2 separate regions of the Homo sapiens genome follow, and region 2 is linked to region 1. Evidence: promoter capture Hi-C in human tissues and cell types (Jung and others, 2019). All regions are on one chromosome and are shown on one strand. The core of a region is centred on a gene start or on the middle of the fragment in contact, and the rest is flanking DNA. Distances in the headings are between cores, read along the strand shown.

Region 1 (3,689 bases), core at 817-3,316:
AATCCCCAGGGCCAGGACCAACCGGGCTGCGGTGCAAGGCTGGGTAACTGACGAGGGGGCCGGGGATGGCCTCATGGAAAACGCTTCCATAAATGGGCATGTTTGCCTCAATCTCTGCCCTCCCACGGAAAAGTAATGATAACAAATCCATAACAGATACCTTGTACGGAATAACACATCTATTTCGGACATGATAATAAAAAAACATGGTGTTTACAAGGCAAGCCTGGCGGCTTCTCGGAAAAGACCCAGCTAGTTCACGTTCTGGACTCTCGGCATGGCAGCCCACCTAGGGTCACTGGTTTCAGCTAGGTCACCCCCTCAATCAGGGGACAAACAGTGCCTTTTATTTTAAATGTGCAAAAAGTCAGTTTATGTTTTCTTCAAAGGACACGGTGATAAACATTTACTTTGTTGGAAGCATTTAGTCCCACCAGAAACCTGACCCCAACAAGTTTGTGTCCATGGTAAAGAAGAAAGATAGTGGGGTCAAGGGTATGAACTTGGACTCAAACTGACCCGGGAATGGGTTCTACCACTTGCTGGCTGTGTGACACTTTACCTCTCTGAGCCTCAGCTGCCTTGTATACTAAACAGGCATCATAAAGCCTTTCTTATGAAGTTGTTGCAAAGATTAAATGAGATAAATTAAGTTAAATGTTGCAACAGCATGTGGCACTGAAGTGTTCCATCAACGGTAGCTATCTCAAAGGGAAAACATCAATTTCCTTCAAACAAAATTCTCTATCTTATTTCACACCCTGCCACCTAATGACTTTCAGTTCAGCGTCAAGTTCCGTCTCTGAACAATTCTAAAATAGTATCGTTGAGTAAATCAAAGAAACAAAAAACTATGCAAAGCAGTTTATTAATAGCCTGCATTCTTTTTGCCAAACCCCGGACGGACAGTTCACCATTTAATCTCTCAGTTCTTCATACTGCAACTAAACACTCCCACCTTGGGTTTCTAAATATTTTCTTTTACTTCTTGACAAGCATGGCTTTGGATGGTACCTTTTCTCAAGTGGCAAAATCCCTACCAGACCCTGTGCTGGAAGAAAACTTACAACAGGCAGTAGCCACACTTTCTCTCGTTTTACCCATTTGGTTGGGCACGAGAGTGGCATTGACACAGGTGGCTCTGCGGGAAATTCTAGTGTAATCTTACCTAACGCACCTGCAGATCGTGGAAGCAAATGGAGACTTTGGAGCCCACCTGGGTATCTGGGGGCCCTTTGGGGTCAACCTGGGTGAGTTGTTTTTTTTTTTTTTAATTTGGAGAAGAGGAAAAAGTGGGCTGTAACAAACTAGATCACAACCAGCCTTATCTCCCAGGGGTTCTCAACATAGAAGAACCTCCCCTAAACTGATTAAAAAAAAAAAACAACAACACTCCTTTCTGCTAAGCCTATGCCCATGTGTTTTTAACTGATTTAATGCATTATCAACACAACTGTGCAATACGGTCAAATCCACAAGGAGCCTCACTTTGCCCTTCTGTGTGATAGCAAGTGACTTTTCAGTGAAGTTCAGCTGTAAATTTTTTGGTGCCTAGAATAAAAGTGAGATGCCTTGATTGTCTGCACCGGACCTCTGAGATTTCCAAGGGAGCATATCTCCTGGATTAGCCTCTTAACAAGAATCACTCGGGACTAATTTTTTTTTTTTTAAGGCAGTTTTTCTGGGGATTCTAGAGTTGGGAAATGGAGTTGGGTCCAGGCATTGATATCGTTAATAAGCACCCCCAAAATGGTACTTCTCACTGGCAATCTTAAGAAATGCTGTTTGGGGAAAGTCTAGGATAATCTAAGACGATAAGGCAGAGAGAGATCCAAATCACAACTCTGCCCCCACCATGGCCCTTACGAGGTTGACAACAGGGACCCCTAAGTGCACCCCAGCCCCTATAGAATACCCTATAGGACTTTTAACACCCCCCTGCCCTGCAATCTGCCCCCAGAATGACAACTACTACTTACAGATCTCCAACTGGGGGGACTAGTGGAGAGGAAACTGGATGGCGAGCTCGGATCTGACGCACCTCCCAGGCCGGAGCGTCCAAATCTCCCTGCGCGTCCTCGGACGCCTCTCTTTATAGACCCGGAGCTGCCCGCGGCTGGGAAAGGGGAGGAGGCCGAAGGGGTGGAGTTGGGGAGGGTCCCTCGCGGCCCCCTCGCCGCGCCCCCTGCAGGGCGCACCCCCGGCGGGAGCGCAAGGAGCTGGGGCGCTCGGGACAAGGGTGCACGGAACAGGTGCGCACCGCACAAGGGCGCACGGAACAGGTGCGCACAGGGACGGGAGTCTCAGCCCCGGCCCCAGGCGGTCGCAGACGCTCCGGATCCCTAGAGAAAGGGGGTCGAGCAGGCAGTGTCTGTGCGGGATGCTTGAGAACGTCTTCCCTGAGTCGGTTCCGGCCGCAAAGGCTTTAACCTCTTCCTCCCCGTGTCGGGGCTGTGGTGGATCTGACTTGACATCTCCCACCCCACTTCCCATTTTATTGGCATCGCACTGTCTGGAAAGAGGGCCGGCTGTGCAGCGTGAAGGGTAGGGAAAGGGGATTTCTTGAACTTTGCAAAGTGCAAGACAGGAGGCCCCCACCCTTGCTGGGAACCGTGCAGGAAGGGGAAGTTTTTACTTTTCCCAACTTGCCATCTCCACCTCCACCCACATCACCACGACCAAAATACAAATAAAAATTAAAAATAAGCCCACTGTGATTATTTCAGCTGTCCCCCTCCCCTGTGCGCCACTCGCCAGCTGCGTGACCTTGGGCAAGTCACTTCACTTCTCTGAGACTTGGTGTCCATAGCTACAAAATGGGGGAAGGCGGTGGCGGTGATAATTACGTTATTTACAAGATGCAAGTGTCAAGATCCAAGGAGAAAGTGGGTGTGCCCCCAGAGTCTGCGAGTTCCCTTCAACAACTTCCCTTCCCCAAGGATTCCTCGCCTAAAATTGCATTCCCTGTCTCTCTCCATCACAGGCTCTCTCGCTCTGTCTCTGCCACTGTCTCTGCATGTCTGTCACTCTGATCATTGCTGTCTCTCGCTCTATCTTTTGTCTCTGTCCCTCTCGCTTCTCTAGATCTGTCGATGTATCTGTCTCTCCCTCCTGTCTCACTTTGTCTCTGGTCTCTGTGTCTCTTGCTCTCCATCTCTCCCGCGTGTCTCACTCCTATCTCTGCGCTTTCTCTCTCTCTCTTCCCCAGGCTCTCCGTCTTCTCCCCGTCCCTCCCTCCCCGCTCCTGTCCACGCACGCACACACAGGCCATAAAAGGAAGTCGAGGCGGTGGGCTGGCCCCGCGCCAGGCCGGGGACCCGCGGGCAGCCCGGGCGCTCCGCTCCCCGCGCGGCACCAGCTCCTCCGAGGTTCCCGGGCCGGGCCGGGCCGGGCCGGTCCCCCTCCCCGGGAGCGGCGGGAGCGGCGGGCGGGAGACAACCCAAAAAGGGCAGGCGCGGACTCCTTCCTGCAGGAATTCCCAGCGCCGCATACCAGCTCTGGGCTGCCGGCTCCCCCTGACTAAATATGGTGCCGAGTGGCCTTCCTGCTCCCCGGCGTCGGGGGAGGGGGCCCTTCACGCAGCCACCGGCCGCCGTTGCCCCGCGGGGCTAGATGGGGACCCCTCTGCTTGGGGAAGGCCCGGAAGGGGGCAGCCCCCAGTCCCACGTGGGTTTCTGCTGCTTCAGGCT
Region 2 (3,689 bases), core at 455-2,954, 130 kb before region 1:
TACTGGCTGTATGTCTCTCTCCTAATTTTTCTACTTACCACAGGGCCTTTGCACACGCTGTTCCCTCTGCCTGGTAGACTTATCCATGCTCCTTAGGGAAGCCTTTCGTGGCTCCTCCTCCCCCAGGTTAGGCCCCCTGGTTATTTACACTTGGGCATCATGTGCCTTCCCTTTGCTGCATCATTTGACATTCATTTGTGTGATTATTCATGTCTTTCCCTTCCCTTCCCTTCCCCTTACTCGGCTGGAGTCCTACTGGGGCAGCGACAGTGTCTCTTCTTCCTTGCTGTTGGATCTCAGGATTAAGCACAGTGCCTGGCATACAGCAGGTGCTCAATAAATACTTATCAAATTGGAAAAGGAAGGGTTTTTTTTCTTTTTTTTTTTTTTTCCTGAGACAGAGTTTTGCCCTTTTAGCCCAGGCTGGAGTACAATGGTGCGGTCTCCGCACACTGCAACCTCTGCCTCCTGGGTTCAAGCTATTCTCCTGCCTCAGCCTCCCGAGTAGATGGGACTACAGGTGCCCACGACCACGCCTGGCTAATTTTTGTATTTTTAGTAGAGACTTTTCACCATGTTGGCCAGACTGGTCTCAAACCCCTGACCTCAGGTGATCCACCCACCTCTGTCTCCCAAAGTGCTGGGATTACAGGCATGAGCCACCGTGCCTGGCCAGAAGGTTTTTTTAATATTTAATTGAACAGGGAGATCATCGCCTCTCCTCCAGGAACGCAACTAGAGGAAAGGACTTGCCTTGCAGCAAGAGAGACCTCAGCGAGCCGGGAAGAGGCTCCTCCCCACAGAACTGGGCACCACCCAGCACTGCCCACCACACCACCGCGCCACCTCCTCACCTGCAGCTTGTGGACTTTGTCATTGAGCTCCGCCCGGGCCCGCTCCCCATCGCTGCACTTGGACTGCAGCTCCTGCACCTGCGCCTCCAGCTTCTTCTTCTTATGTTCCACCTCCTGCTTGGCCTGGCCCAGGACCCGCAGCTCCCCGGCCAGGTCTGCGTTCTCTTTCTCCAGCGTCTGCTTATTCTTGTCTAGGTTCGCCTTGGCCTGGCGAAGGAAGCAGAGGGGAGGGATAACAGGGAGGCTGTGGCCGGGAGAACGTTTCAGGCCCTGCCCTTTCCTCCCTCAGAGAGGTCCAGGAAGGCACACAACAGGGGGCACACAATCACCAGTAAGAGATTTGGGGTTTTTTTGTTGTTATTTTTTTTTTGAGATGGAGTCTTAACTCTGTTACCCAGGCTGGAGTGCCGTGGCACAATCTTGGCTCACTGCAACCTCCGCCTCCCAGGTTCAAACTATTCTCCTGCCTCAGCTGCCCAAGTAGCTGGGATTACAGGCGCCCGCCACCATGCCCGACTAATTTTTGTATTTTTAGTAGAGACGAGGTTTCACCATGTTAGCCAGGCTGCTCTCGAACTCCTGACCTCAAGTGATCCACCCATCTTGGCCTCCCTAAGTGCTGGGATTACAGGCGTGAGCTGCCGCACCCAGCTGATATTTTGGATTCTATTTTCCTAAAGCTCATGGGTTGCAATCTGGAATCCCACAAGCGGTATCCAACCTGCTGACATGTCCCCTTTGACCCTTTCACTACTTTTAAAAAAATGAGTTGCCGACATTTTAATAAATGTCACATAAAAATCTGGATTCCCAGCTTCTTTTTCAAAAAACTTTAATGTTTGAAGGCATGCCATGGCAGCTCATACTTGTCATCCCCAGCACTTTGGGAAGCAGGCAGAAGGATCGCTTAAGGCCAGGAGTACAAGACCAGCCTGGGCAATGTAGTGAGACCCCCATCTCTACTAAAATAAAACATTAGCTGGGTGTGGGGGGCACACACCAGCAATCCCAGCTACTCAGGAGGCGGATGGCAGGCTTGCTTGAGCCCAGGAATTGGAGGCTGCAGTGAGCTATGATCACACCACTGCACTCCAGCCTGGGCAACAAAGTGAGACCCTGTTTCAGAAATAAGTAGCTTTGGGAGGCCAAGGCAGGTGGATCACTTGAGGTGAGGAGTTCGAGACCAGCCTGGCCAACATGGCGAAACTGCATCTCTACTAAAAATGGAAAAATTAGCCGGGCATGGTGGCGCACGCCTGTAGTCCCAGCTACTGGGGTGGCTAAGGCACAAGTATTGCTTGAACCTGGGAGGTGGAGGTTGCAGTGAACCAAGATCATGCCACTGCATTCCAGCCTGGGTAACAGAGTGAGACTCCATCTCAATCAATCAATCAATAACTAACATTCTATGTGGTGACTGTGGTGGTGGTAGTTACACAATACACATTTGTTAAAATTAATGGAGCAGTAAAATGGATAAATTTTACTACATATGCCTCAGTAATCCTAAACTTAAAAACAAAAACAAAAAACCAACAACAACGAAAGATCTGGAAACAGAGGGTCTTGCTTTCCTTCAAGGCAACAATCTGCCACATCTAAGTAGCGGCTGGCTCTGCAGGTGGGGCAGTCACCTTTCACCGCCCCCGTCCTTCACAGGTGTCGTGTGATTGACACTGCTACTTCTGTCCTAGTTAAGGGAAACTTATTTTATGGAACCAGCTCCTGTAGGCATGTGAGTTGCCCTACAGGAAAAAAAAAGTGTGTTGGGGCCAGGCGCGGTGGCTCAGGCCTAGAATCCCAGCACTTTGGGAGGCCTATGCAGGCAGGTCACTTGAGGTCAGGAGTTTGAGACCAGCCTGGCCAACATGGTGAAACCCCGTCTCTACTAAAAATATAAAAATTAGCCGGGCATGGTGGCAGTCACCTGTAATCCCAGCTGCTGAGGAGGCTGAAGCAGGAGAATTGCCTGAACCCAGGAGGCGGGGGTTGCAGTGAGCCGAGATCCCGCCAGTGCACTCCAGCCTGGGCGACAGAGTGAGACTTTGTCTCAAAAAAAAAAGCGTGTTGGGCAAAAGTAGGACGCGGTGAGGGGCTTCTTTCCAGGTTGTAGAGAAGGGGAAAGAGAAGCGCAAGTATCCCGAGAGGACGAGACCCACCACTCAGTCTTCCCATAGTCCCTGGGAGGTGCTGGACGTTGACCGGTCAGCCCTGGATGCCCGTCCTCCCTCCAAGACATGACTAAGAGCTGCCAGACCTCAGATGGGGACAGGGAGTCTCTTGGTGGTAACAAAGCAGTGAAGCGGGGACCCTAGGGGACATGGGCTCCCAGAAACCTTAGCCCAGCCTAAGACCCCAGAACTGGGGCCAAACCGCACGAGGGCCTGGGGAGCCCAGGTAGGAGCTGATGTTAAACGTTTCCCCCACAAGCAGATGGAACCAGGTCTCTACATCAGAATTCAAGTTGTTAGAGGCAAAGGCCTCTGTTTCCCTGCACCTGAGATGGGCAGAGGTTTGCACCTCTACCTGCTTTGTGCGGGTCAGTAATGGACATGCCGTCTGCTGGTGGTCTTAATAACTGCGTCTTCCCAAAGAGGCCTGGCTGGGAATGGGCTTGGCTTCTAGCTCCTGTTCACGTCTAATGAACCCCAAGCATGGGGAGGGTCAGTGATTCTGTCTGGGGCCTCACTCTTCCAACCATAATTTTTTTTTTTTTTTTTTGAAACTGAGTCTCACTCTGTTGCCCAGGCTGGGGTGCAGTGGCACAATCTTGGCTCACTGCAACCTTTACCTCCTGGGTTCAAGTGATTTTCATGTCTCAGCCTCCCAAGTAGC

Evidence for each region. The method cuts DNA at HindIII sites, captures the fragments that hold promoters and counts their contacts. A contact is called where the count stands out against the background at its distance.
Region 2: a contact is called between a fragment that was not itself captured here and the fragment with the promoter of MYH11 in region 1, in 1 of the 25 tissues and cell types used here (IMR-90 fibroblasts).

Annotation. Positions count from the first base shown.
Region 1 is chr16:15,854,962-15,858,650 of GRCh38, forward strand. MYH11 (myosin heavy chain 11) reads right to left here and starts at 2,067. Exons shown (of 41, transcript NM_002474.3): 1 at 1,980-2,067. RefSeq lists an enhancer at 3,113-3,614. The HindIII fragment of the contact is 11,295 bases long and covers 1-3,689 here.
Region 2 is chr16:15,725,994-15,729,682 of GRCh38, forward strand. MYH11 (myosin heavy chain 11) reads right to left here. Exons shown (of 41, transcript NM_002474.3): 28 at 855-1,061. NDE1 (nudE neurodevelopment protein 1) reads left to right here. Exons shown (of 9, transcript NM_017668.3): 9 at 1-360. Among named protein-coding and RNA genes, the nearest start is that of NDE1, 78 kb to the left of the region's middle. The HindIII fragment of the contact is 9,950 bases long and covers 1-3,689 here.